Linked DNA regions of Homo sapiens: region 2 is linked to region 1. The links are contacts of gene promoters, found by promoter capture Hi-C in human tissues and cell types (Jung and others, 2019). All regions are on one chromosome and are shown on one strand. The core of a region is centred on a gene start or on the middle of the fragment in contact, and the rest is flanking DNA. Distances in the headings are between cores, read along the strand shown. Region 1 holds the start of AQP7 (aquaporin 7). Region 2 overlaps NFX1 (nuclear transcription factor, X-box binding 1).

The links. The method cuts DNA at HindIII sites, captures the fragments that hold promoters and counts their contacts. A contact is called where the count stands out against the background at its distance.
Region 2: a fragment that was not itself captured here is called in contact with the fragment with the promoter of AQP7 in region 1 in 1 of the 25 tissues and cell types used here (bladder).

Annotation. Positions count from the first base shown.
Region 1 is chr9:33,400,248-33,406,578 of GRCh38, forward strand. AQP7 (aquaporin 7) reads right to left here and starts at 2,321. Exons shown (of 8, transcript NM_001170.3): 1 at 2,126-2,321; 2 at 990-1,040. The coding sequence starts at 1,015. It overlaps LOC105376020 (a long non-coding RNA gene), which reads left to right and starts at 1,274. Exons shown (of 3, transcript NR_188543.1): 1 at 1,274-1,575; 2 at 1,661-1,901. RefSeq lists a silencer at 1,244-1,538 and an enhancer at 4,089-4,646. The HindIII fragment of the contact is 13,402 bases long and covers 1-6,068 here.
Region 2 is chr9:33,360,007-33,366,337 of GRCh38, forward strand. It overlaps NFX1 (nuclear transcription factor, X-box binding 1), which reads left to right. Exons shown (of 24, transcript NM_002504.6): 20 at 4,004-4,102; 21 at 4,702-4,768. Among named protein-coding and RNA genes, the nearest start is that of AQP7, 39 kb to the right of the region's middle. The HindIII fragment of the contact is 9,227 bases long and covers 1-6,331 here.

The sequences.
Region 1 (6,331 bases), core at 1,071-3,570:
GCGAAGGTACCAGCTCCTACGGAAAAAAACAGAGCAAGGAGAGGGGAATTGGGAGTGCAGGGGCTGGAGATGGGGTGTGATTTCAAATAGGGCAGCCAGAGTAATCCTTGTTGAGAAGGTGGCCTTGGAGCAAAGCCATGAAGGAGACGAGAGTGGGCTGTATGTTAGCTGCAGAAAGCCTCTCAGGTGGAGGGAGACTAGTCACCAGAGGACTCTCAGCATGTTTGAAGAAAGCAAAGAAAGTCAGTGTGAGGCCAGGTGCAGTGGCTCACACCTGTAATCCCAACCTTTTGGGAGGCCAAGGCGGGTGGATCACCTGAGGTCAGGAGTTCAAGAACAGCCTGGCGAACATGGCGAAACCCCATTTCTACTAAAAATACCAAAATAATAATAATAATAATTAGCTGGGTGTGGTAGTGTGTGCTTGTAATCCTGTAATCACAGCTACTCAGGAGGCTGAGGCAAGAGAATCGCTTGAACCCGGGAGGAGGAGGTTGCAGTGAGCCAAGATCATGCCATTGCACTCCAGCCTGGGCGACAGAACTGGATTCCATCTCGGAAAAAAAAAAAAACCTGAAAAGAAACTCAGTGTGGCTGGAGGAGGGAGAGCAGGGGGCTGGAGTGGGGAGGCCAGAAAGCTAACAAGGCTGGGCCTTGGCCATTGCAAGGACTGGCTCTTGTTCACCCCAAAGACAGCTGAGCCTGAGAGGGTGAGAGGTGCTGAGTGCAGTTGAGTTGAAGGCCACCTGCATGCCTTGACCCTCATCCAAGTATTTCTGAGCCTCCCCTCACCCCAGGACCCAGCCCAGGCAACAGGTGGAAGATGCTCTTCTTCTGGGACCTCAGAGGCGAGTGGGTGGGTGGGGAGGAGGAGGTCGAGTGGGGACAGCTGCCCCAAGGGAGAGGCTGAGGATGGAACAGGGAGGGCACTGAAGTGGGCTGGGTGAAGGACAGGGGGCTGGAGGGTGAGAAGAGGGTGGGGTACTTACCGCCTGTGCCCGGATGCTTGAACCATGTTTTGTCTTTCAGATTTGTAGATGCTGAGGAGCCAAAGAGAGGTCACTAGGGCTGGAGGACACAGAACTTGGCCCCACACTTCCATCAGACCTTGGTCCCCAGGGGAGAAGCCCTGGGGCAGCTCCTGCTAGTGCCACTCCCTTAACCCAGCCAAGGAACAGGGAGGGAGGAGCGGTGCTCAGCCAATGAGGCGACGCCCTGGAGCCCCACCCCACCCATGCTGGCCCCAGGACCCCAGCCCCAGGCCAGACCCTCCAGTGCTCCTGCTGACCTTCCGTGTCTGCAGCCCGGCTTTGGACTGTGGAGATGCCCTCAGCCTCTACTCAGTGGCTCCAGCCTCATATTTGCGTGCTATACCTTTAACCTCAAGTCCTCTTGCTGCTAACTTAAGCTGCGACTGTCCAGGACCTGCACACACACACACATGCACGCATGCACACACACACACACAGAAGGTGAACACACAGGATGAGGCCCTGAAAACTCATTTCACCCGTGTACCTCACCCAAAAATTCCCCTTTGTACTCCTATCTTTATCTCTAACTGACAGCATGAAGGTAGCCCGAAGTCCCCTCACCCTGTCTGTCCTCCTGATTCTCTAGCCCAGTTCCCTCTAGCTCCAGCACAGACTCTTATCTCCAGCCCTGACTGCCGAAACCCTCCAGCCCCAGCTCCAGCCCCTCAGGAGGGGACTGCGTGGGAGGAATGACTCCAGCAAGCCGGCAGCTGACCCGTCTCCTGCCTGCACGCCTCCCGCTGTGGTCCACTGCCGGTGGTCTTCAGCTCTCTCCTCGTCCCACCCCCATGGTCTGCTGACAGCCCAGCTCAGTGCATCCCTGCCATCTCTGCTCTACCGCTGGTCCTCCCAACAACCAACTTACAGGTAAGGAAACTGAGGCCCAGAGAGAGGGTGTATGTGCCTGTGTCACACAGCAACACAGGACTGCACCATAACAAGAAAGCCGGGACTTCCACTCCCAGACGGGGCTCCTTCCCCAAACAATCCCTCAGTCACCTCCTCCCTGTATGGTACCCAGGGAATGGCCCTTCCAGATCTGGGCGCTGAGGAGGCTGCCCCATCCCCACCCTGCCTGGAGCCCCACTCACTCTGCTGAAATGTCTCTGATTCTCAGCCTCCGCCTTGGGGGCTTCTCAGTTACAGCGCATCTTGATCTTGTTCCTCCGTGACTGTCCCTGGCTCAGCTTCCACCCCCAGCTGGGGCTCAGCTATCCCTGTGTCCCCAGTCCAGAGCCTGCCTCTCAGCTCTCCCAGGGCGGCCTCGAGCGCTGCTCCTGCTCCTCCAGGGGAGAGGTCAGTAAGGCAGGGGTTTGGCTGGTGCCACTTGAACCAAGTCCAGATGCACTGCCCAAAATAACATCCCTCGTCCGGCCAGCAGTGCCGTGGAGACCGAGTTCTGAAGCAGGCCTTTGTGAGGTCAGAGGTGGAGCTCTGGGTGGGCACTCTGGGCCTCTCAGTCCCAGAGGAAAGGCCTGTCCTCCAAGCCAATGTGCAGCCTGACTCTGGGGCCAGCGCCTGAGGAAGCCCTCCCTGAGCCCCAGCCCTGGGGAAGGCTGAAGAGGCCTCTGAGCCCCCAGCGCTGGGGAGAGCTGTGCAGAATAGGACTGGAGGTGGAAGTGTTGGAGATTAACAGCCAGGTGGAGGGGACGGGGGAGGCCCTGGGTCAGTCCTCAGGGAACCCCCATTGTGAAGGGGGAAAGGGAAACTCAGGCCCAGTCCTCAGGGGCCCCCAGTCTGAGAGGAAGGAGGACACACGAGCCATATTTGCAGAGAAACACCAGCCTGCGAGAGGAGGTAGAAGCCCAGGCCTGGCCCTCCGAGGGCCCCTAGTCTGAGGAGCAGTCCACCTGTCCTCGGGAAAACACCTCCCTTAGGAAAGGCCAGCAAGGCCCCCGTAAAGGACCCAGAGCTGGATCGGGACATCGGGCTCGGGGCTCAGCGGTGTGGGAGCTCCGGGACCGAGGTGCAGTCAGGAGAGACCCTGGGGGCCAGCAGCAGTCCCAGAGGACTTTTGGAGCCAAGGCCTGACTGGGTCTCAAACAATGGGGCAGGCAGTTTGGGGTTTCAGCAGGTGGCCCAGTGCTGAGACACAAGGGAGGTGTTTCTGGTCTGCAGACACTGAGGACGCTTGCTATGTGGCGTGGTGGACGGTGGGTAAGTCCTGGGAACTTCCGGCACCAGGCTCCATGGGTGGGAAGGGGCATAAGATTCAGTTGTCCAAAGCTCAGGTCTGGGAATGGAACTGTCCTGTAGAGGGTGCCAAAGACCAGGTCTGGAACCTGCATAGCCCCAGTCCCCACCCCTGCACACACCCTCCCACCCCTTCCAGCTTTTTCTGCAGATCTTTCTGCAGGGGTGAGGCAGGGAGAGGAAGGGGTCGGCCACAGTCCCGGGGCTTCCTAGTCAGAAGCCCTCTGTAAGGCACTAACTTCCCTCTGCAGATTCTTTTTTTTTTGAGACGGAGTCCCGCTCCGCCCAGGCTGGAGTGCAGTGGCACAGTCTTGTCTCACCACAATCTCTGCCTCCCAGTTCAAGTGATTCTCCTGCCTCAGCCTCCCAAGTAGCTGGGATTACAGGCATGCACCACCAAGCCCAGCTAGTTTTTTTGGATTTTTAGTAAAGACGGGGTGTCACCATGTTGGTCAGGCTGGTCTCGAACTCCTGACCTCAGGTAATGCACCCGCCTCGGCCTCCCAAAGTGCTGGGATTATAGGTGTGAGCCACTGCGCCCGGCCTCCCTCTGCAGATTCTACGTGGGCTCAAGATTCAGCCTTTCTTCCTCAGGAAGGGAGGGGTGCACGCTTGGAAATGGGAGAGTCCTGCCTTTTTTCCTTTCCCATGTGTGCTCCCAGGGCCGGGATGAGGTCATGTTAGAAGTGGATCTGGGGTCTTGGATGAGGTCAGCACTTGGGCAGAGTTGGAATGGGCTGGTGTCAGGTTGGTGAGGGAGGGAATTGGGATCCATGCTGGGGTCAGAGATCAGGCTCTAAGCTCTTTTACAGGGCTTGACCCTGGGGACTGAGAGGTGGAGAAGACACAGTCCCATCTGTCTCACGGCAGAGACAGGTAAGCAGCAGGTGACTTAGGACACACCAGATAGGCTGGAAGGAATACAGACGGGGCTATCCCAAGCTGGAGGGGTACAAGGGTCTTCCGTTAGAGGTGACGTGGGAACTGAGTTTTCCAAAACGAGCAGGGGGATGGGGCACCGGGGCATTTGAAGCTTGATGGGATTGTGAGAAAACCTGGGAACTGCGAGTGACTTGCAGAGGGCTGCGGAAGTGGGCAGGGATAGACCATGAAGGGCTTTGTCAGCCAGGCCAAGGAGTTCTGACTTTAACCCGAGGGCCTGAGGAGCCTGCAAAGGGTTCTAAACAAAGAGAAGAGCAACAGGGTCAACCTGAGGTCCCTGAGGCCCCAGGGCATCCAGCAGGCAGAGGCGCAGTTGGGCCTGGGCTGGGGAGAGGAGTCTAGCTGGAGAAAGAGAAGAGGAGATATCAGCCCCTGGACATTCAGCACTAGAGTTGCTGGGGCTGCCCAAGAAGCACAGGGAGTGAGGCAAGGGCCAGGGCCAGGATTCTGGGGAAGAAGGATGACGAAGAAGGAGTGGGTGTGGAAGGAGCTGGAAACCCAGACACAGGGCTGCCCAGAGGCTGATGGGAGCCAGTAGGGGGCTGTTGCCCCAGAGTTGGGTGCTGGGAGGGGCTGGCCAGGCAGGTGTTTGCAGACAGCTGCCTGGATGAGCTGGTGGGGATAGAGGGTGGCAACAGCACTGAAGAAGCAGAGGCTGAGGAGGCAGAAAGTTCAACTGCAGAGAGAAGAGAGGCAGCTAAAGGGGCCACCAAGGTGGGAGTTTGGGTCAGAGCTGTGAAGCATGTTAGTCTGCACAGAGCCTGCGGCGGGGGGTCTCTGGGTCTCTGAGCCAGTGGAGATAGTTGGGGGGCAGAGAGGGAGGGGACACCCGGGGTCCTTTCTTCATAGGATGGGCTTGAGTAGAGTTACCAGATAAAATATAAGATGCCCAGTTAAATTTAAATTTCAAAGAAACAATATTTGCCACAACCTTATACCTGGTATACCTTTGGTCTAAACTCAGGCCCTCTTGATGCTTAAACTGTGACTGTCCAGGACCTACACACACACACACACACACACACACACACACACACACACACACACACACAGAGTTTTATTTTTAGCAAATAAAAATATAGCCAGGTGCATTGGCTCACTCCTGTAATCCCAACACTTTGGGAGGCTGAGGTTGGTGGATCACCTGAGATCAGGAGTTCGAGACCAGCCTGGCCAACATGGTGAAACCCCGTCTCTACTAAGAATACAAAAATTAGCCAGGTATGGTGGCAGGTGCCTGTAATCCCAGCTACTCAAGAGGCTGAGACAGGAGAATTACTTGAACCCAGGAGGCAGAGGTTGCAGTGAGCTGAGATGGCACCACTGCACTCCACCATGGGTGATAGAGTAAGACTCTGTCTCAAAATAAATAAATATATAAAAATAAAACAAAATACTTTTTTATTTTATTTTATCTTTTGAGCCAGAGTTTCGCTGTTGTCACCCAGGCTGGAGTGCAGTGGTACAATCTTGGCTCACTGCCACCTCCACTTCCCGGATTCGAGTGATTCTCTTGCCTCAGCCTCCCGAGTAGCTGGGACTACAGGCATGAGCCACTACACCCAGCTAATTTTTGTATTTTTAGTAGAGATGGGGTTTCACCATGTTGGCTAGGCTGGTCTCAAACTTCTGATCTCAGGTGATCCACCCGCCTCGGGCTCCCAGAGTGCTGGGATTACAGGCGTGAGCCACCGCACTTGGTCTAAAATACTTTTTTCATTCAAACATTTGTTAAGAATATCTTTCTATGACAGTAGGTCCATGTCCACCTCATGCCTGTTGTACAGCATTCCACCTGATGGAGATTATATAATAAGGAATCCTTCTATTGATGAGCGTTTAGATTGTCTCCAATTTTAAATGGACCCAACACTTCTCTATTGTGAACAACATGGGATAAACACAATTGGCTGAAACTCAATTAAGGATGAAAATGCAAATCGAAATTTTAAAATATCAGAATGAAGAAACAAAAATGACTAAAGGTGCTAAAAACTGTCCCCGAATGTCCCCCAAAGTGTTGACACACGCACAAAAACTAAACATTTTGATTAATTATTTGTTTCAATCAACATGCCATTGGATTAACTTATCACAAAAACTGCTTTTCATCACGCTGCTTTACACTTGTGGTTTTTCCGACTCTTTCGAGCCACGGAATC
Region 2 (6,331 bases), core at 1,757-4,256, 40 kb before region 1:
AAATTTTCCTTGGTTTGACCCTTATAATAACTTTCTAGTGAGTGCCGTTCAAAACCCTTGCCCTTTAGGAACCGTCAGTCAGTGTTCTCAGCTGCAGAATGTAAATTAGGAGTCCTAGGTATTCAGAAATGCTATAGTGAATACACAGAAGGTCTCCAAACATGGAAATGTACTTTTGGTGGTTGAAAGACATATTGTATACTAGTTAGAGCCAGAGCTCTGGAGTCAGATTGTCTGGATTTGAATCCTGGCTTCACAAATCACTTAGCTATGAGACCTTGGGCAAGTCACATATTGTCTGTAAGCCTTAGGTTTCTTAAAAATCTAGAAATGATGACAATAACAGTATTTACCTTCCAGAGTTGTTGTGAGGATTAATACATTAAAAATGATACTCATAAAGCTCTTGGCACAAGAGCTTGGCACATAGTAGGTACTCAGTAAATGTTATTGATTAAAACTAGCTATTTTTGAAAGCCTTTTGAATTTCTCCTCAATCTTGGTGATGACATAATGACCCTTACTGGATAGAGTCTTTCATAAATACACACAAACCTAAGAGAAAAAAATGCAAATTTAAAGAAAAGTCCATCTAAAGTTATATCTATATATACACACACATATATACACGCATACACCTGTGTGTATATATATGTATGTGTGTATATCTCTATTGTAGAAATAAAAACCTAGCAGGCCAAATTCAGCCCACAGACAGGTTTTATTGGTGTTTAAATTTGAATTAGTGGCCAACTAACCAAAACATCAAAAGATCTTCCCCTAGAAATTCTCTTGAAAATTTGAAAAGTAAGTGTCTTTTGAAAAATTGGAAATCTAGCAGTGTGAACCAGATTCTTGTGGGCACTAAGCTTGTAAGTGACTCTTGGTGCAGTGTAAATGAAAATTGTACTAAGTGCTAAGCTGAAATCTAGCTTTAAAAAAATAAAATAACTTGAATGTTGGTGAGATGCCATGAGATTCAGACACTGATGGCTAGGGCACTAAGTGGCATTTCTGGAGACCACTTACTCCACATTGATCAAGAGTCTTATGTCCACTCCATGTACCCCACAACTGGAAACATTTTCAAAGCTTTTTGCACAGAGATATTAATTGTGTCGTATATAATATTGAGAAACTGAGGAACTGTTAAAGAAACCTAAATGGGAAATGATTAAAATATGGGAACATAATTAGAAGACTATGAGCCATGAAGACAGTTAAGTGTGAAAACAAAATAATAATATGAGAAATGCTAACAAGATAATGCTGAGAGGCAAAGAAACAAGGTTTTTTTAATTTTTAAAATTTTTTTATTAAATAAAAATGGTATATATTTATGGTAATACAGCATGATGTGTATGTATACATTGTGGAATGGCTAAATCAAGCTAATTAGCATATGCATTACCTCACATTCTTATTTTTGGGGGGGTGAGACAATTTTGAATATAATAATGGCGGTACTTAAAATTATAGAGAAAGGCTGGGCGCAGTGGCTCACACCCGTAATCCCAGCACTTTGGGAGGTCGAGGCGGGTGGATCACCTGAGGTCAGGAGTTCAAGACCAGCCTGGCCAACATGGTGAAACCCCATCTCTACTAAAGATACAAAAATTAGCTGGGCATGGTTGCGGGCGCCTGTAATCCCAGCTACTCGGGAGGCTGAGGCAGGAGAATCGCTTGAATCCAGGAGGTGGAGGTTGCAGTGAACCGAGATCATGCTATTGTACTCCAGCCTGGGCGACAAGAGCAGCCTGGGCGACAAGAGCAAGACTCCATCTCCAAAAATATATATATATACACATAGAGAGAAACGTTATAGTGAAAAAAGGGGCCCGTTACAGCGGCTCATCCCCATAATCCCAGCATTTGGGTGGCTGAGGCCAGCGGATCACTTGAGCTCAGGAGTTCAAGACCAGCCTGGGCGACATAGCAAAACCCTGTCTCTACAAAAAATACAAAAATTAGCCGGGCATGGTGGCACACTTGTAGTGCCAGCTACTGGAGAGGTTGAGGTAGGAGGATGGCTTAAGCCCAGGAGGTGGAAGTTACAGTGAGCTGAGATCATGCCACTGCACTCCAGCCTGGGCAACAAGAGCCAGACCCAGCCTCAAAAAAAAAAAAAAAACAATTAGAAAAAAGGGAACACTTACACATTCTTGGTGGGATTGTAAATTAGTACAGCCACTATGGAAAACAGTATGGAATTTCCTCACATTAAAAATAGAACTACCATATGATCCAGCAATCCTATTACTTGGTATCTCTACAGAGGAAATAAAATCTGTAGAGATACCTGTACTCTCATATTTGTTGCAGCACTATTTACAATAGCCAAGATATGAAATCAACTGAAGTGGCCAACATGGCTGCATGGATAAAGAAAATGGGGTATATATACAGAATGAAATACTATTCGGCCATAAAAAAAATGAAACCCTGTCATTTGCAACAACATGGATGGACCTGGAGGACATCATGTTAAGTGAAATAAGCCAGACACAGAAAGACAGACACCACACGATCTCACTCATATGTAGAATATTTAAAAAATAATACAGAAGCAGAGAGTAGACCAGTGTTGTCTGACTGAGAAGAGGGACAGGGTGGAAAAGGGAGGTTGAGGAGAGGTTGGTCAGTGGATATAAAGTTACAAATAGATGGTAGTAATAAGTTCCTGTGGTTTTTTTTTTTTTTTTTTTTTTTTTTTTGAGAAGGAGTTTTGCTCTTGTTGCCCAGGCTGTAGTGCAATGGCGCTATCTCAGCTCACTGCAAGCTCTGCCTCCCGGGTTCAAGCGATTCTCCTGCCCCAGCCTCCTGAGTAGCTGGGATTACAGGCATGCACAACCACACCTGACTAATTTTTGTGTTTTTAGTAGAGACGAGGTTTCTCCATGTTGGTCAGGCTGGTCTCGAGCTCCCAGCTTCAGGTGATCCGCCCGCCTCGGCCTCCCAAAGTGCTGGGATTACAGGCGTGAGCCACCGTACCCAGCCTAAGTTCTCGTGTTCTATGGCACACTGGGGTGATGATGGTTAACGGTAAGGTGTAGTATTTTACAAAATAGCTAGAAAAGAGGCTTCTGTGTATTCTCACCACAGTGAAATAATAAGGGCATCAGGTGATGGATATGCCTAATACACTGATTTGGTCATTATACAACATAGTATATATGTACCGAGACATCAACATCAAACTGCTTCATAAATATGAAGCAATGACAATGGGTCAATAAAAATAAAATAATAAAGAAATGTATTATTATTATTATTATTATTATTATTATTATTATTTTTAGACAGAGTCTCACTGTGTTGCCCAGGCTGGAGTGTAGTGGCACAATCTCGGTTCACTGCAACCTCTTTCTCCTGAGTTCAAGTGATTCTCATGCCTCAGCCTCCTAGCAGCTAGGATTACAGGCACGTGCTACCACACCCGGCTAATTTTTGTATTTTTAGTAGAGACAGGGTTTCACCATATTGGCCAGGCTGGTCTCGAACTCCTGGCCTCAAGTGATCCATCTACCTTGGCCTCCCAGAGTCCTAGGATTACTGGTGTGAGCCACCGCACCCAGCCAAGAAATGTATAAAAATGAAGTGTATATGTTAATGGAATTCTTTACTTTTCAGATTTCTATATTAATTTTAACATTTGTATGTCTATTTTATGTACCTTATCTTTAAACAAAGCCTCAGAGAAAGTCATCCCCCATTGACCATTCTCAGTGATCCCACACCCCCAAACTCCTCTTCCCCAAATAATCTAAGTCCCCAGTGTTCAGCCTATGACTTGCTCAGATCCTTATAGATCTGTTTATTTTCTTTTATGAAGACAATACCACCTCATGTCCCAAGTTGTTGTTATTCTCTCCTTAATAATCCAGTTTACCAAAATAGAGATAAATAATGTGTAAAGAATTTAGGATATAGTAGGCACTCGGGGTTACTGCAAGATAGTTTCCCTCCCACTCCTTTTATTTGCATACCTCTCTCTCTCTTTCAGGAGATTAGCAGAGGCATTTCATATCAGTGAGGATTCTGATCCTTTCAATATACGTTCTTCAGGGTCAAAATTCAGTGATAGTTTGAAAGAAGATGCCAGGTATGTAACTTGTTACCTGCTTTCTTAATTGTGGCTTGTCAGGGTGTTTGGTCTTTTGAGATGTCATAACTAATATGTACTCCTCCTGTGATTAAGCCAGTTCAAGTTTGTTTGTTTATCTATTGTAAGAGATTATGTGCTGTTTAATAAATATCCTTCTCTTGGTTTCTCGAAACTGTCCCCTTAAAGAACTGAACTTGGGGTAGGGTTGAGATAAGAGTTTGGGTGGGGTGGTGGTAAGAGTTTGGGCCTCCCAAGGGCTGGACTAGACTAAATTGGAGGATCTCTGGGCTTCATTCCACTTCTGTCCACCCCAGTCTCACATTCACATGCGTTCTCAGTTGGAGCTATAACAGCTCTTATTTTTCTCCTGGAGTCCCTGGCCTTTCAGTGGCTACTTCTCCTTTCATCTTCTCATTTCTTATATTTTTCTCTTTTGTTCTTCCGTCAGTCATCCTTCTGTTTTCTGACAATTCCTGATCTCTGCAGTTTTACTGCCAGCATTGTCTATTGTCTACGCTTTACAGGGAGAGGATGGGTGAAAGGGGTTCTCAGAAGGGCAGGGACAGACAAAATTAACTGGTGATTTCTCATTTCAGGAAGGACTTAAAGTTTGTCAGTGACGTTGAGAAGGAAATGGAAACCCTCGTGGAGGCCGTGAATAAGGTTGAAGTCGAAACATCCCACTGGACATTTCTCTAAGGCCAGCTTGATGAAAAAAAAAAAGCAATCAAGTCCTGGAAACACTTTCAACCTAGAGTAGTTGTAGGAAAAAGTCACAACTTCTTTGAGGATCCTTATCTTTCTCAAAACACAGCCATTATAACATCTGTGGAAGCCTGTCCTGGTTCAGGACAGTTGACTGCAGAAAAGATCTACAGTCGGCTGGGCACAGTGTCTCATGCCTGTAATGCCAGCACTTTGGGAGGCCAAGGCAGGCAGATCACTTGAGGTCAGGAGTTCTAGATCAGCTTGGCCAACATGACGAAACCCTGTCTCTACTAAAAATATAAAAATTAGCTGGGTGTGGTGGCGGGCACCTGTTATTCCAGCTACTTGCAAGGCTTAGGCAGGAGAATTCCTTGAACCCGGGAGGCAGAGGTTGCTGTGAGCTGAGATTCTGCCACTGCACTCCAGCCTGGGCAACAAGAGTGAAACTCTGTCTCAAAAAGAAAGAAAGAAAGAAAGAAAGCTCTGCAGTCAGCTGTAAGTAAATGCCAGGCACGGTGGCTCACACCTGTAATCCCAGCGCTTTGGGAGGCTGAGGCAGCAGGCGGATCACTTGAGTCCAGGAGTTCACGACCAGCCTGGGCAACGTGGCAAAACCCTGTCTCTACAAAAAATAAAAAATTAGCCAGGTGTGGTGGTGCACACCCATAATCCCAGCTACTCAGGGGGCTGAGGCAGGAGGATTGCTTAAGCCCAGGAGGTCAAGCCTGCAGTAAGCTGAGGTTGAGTCACTGTACTCCAGCTTGGATCTCCAGCTTGAGATCCTGTCTCAATAAAAAAGAAAGAAAGAAAAAGAAAATAAAGATGCTGGCCAAGTGCCTAAGAATGGATGAAGAAACTCTGGGTGAGGGGGCTCAATAGTGATAGTTGAGTGACTGTGTGGGACACTTAGGAAGACACTCTAGCCCCTCAGATCTTTGAAGGGCTATTGTATGCTAGGAAAGCCCACTGTTCTTTATAATTCCAAAGGCAGGAATGTCCCCTTTGGGAAGGATGAAAGTTGTATGACTACAGCTGGAGAGCAGTGGGATAGACTCCTTCAGAAGAGGGAGACCCCTGTCCTGGAGGCGGCCAGGGATGTCACGGAGGTAGCTTTAAGTGGAAAAGTCTTGAGTTTAGTCAGAAGCCCCCAGCGCTGCATTGGCTTCCTCCCCCTTCCATCAGGGGGGACGGTGAGTAAGGACAAGATGGTTGCTTTAGCCCCTGTATCTAATGCTGGTGGTTTTCCTTCCCAGTCTCCTTACCCTCTTCCCATTCCCCTCCTTTCCTCCCTTCTGTTACCACTTCCCAGCAGAATATTAACATGAAGGAGAAAATGGAATGCATTATTCCTCTCCTAATTAAGAAACCCCAACAGATGTGTTTCTCTGCTTGTGTGTCTGTATCTGAATACTCACGATTTTTAAAGTAGAACATACTTTTAAAGGAAATAATATTTTCTTGTTTTGTAAGTCTTTAGTCATTTTTGGGGAATATCACCCACTCCCCAGTTATGGAACC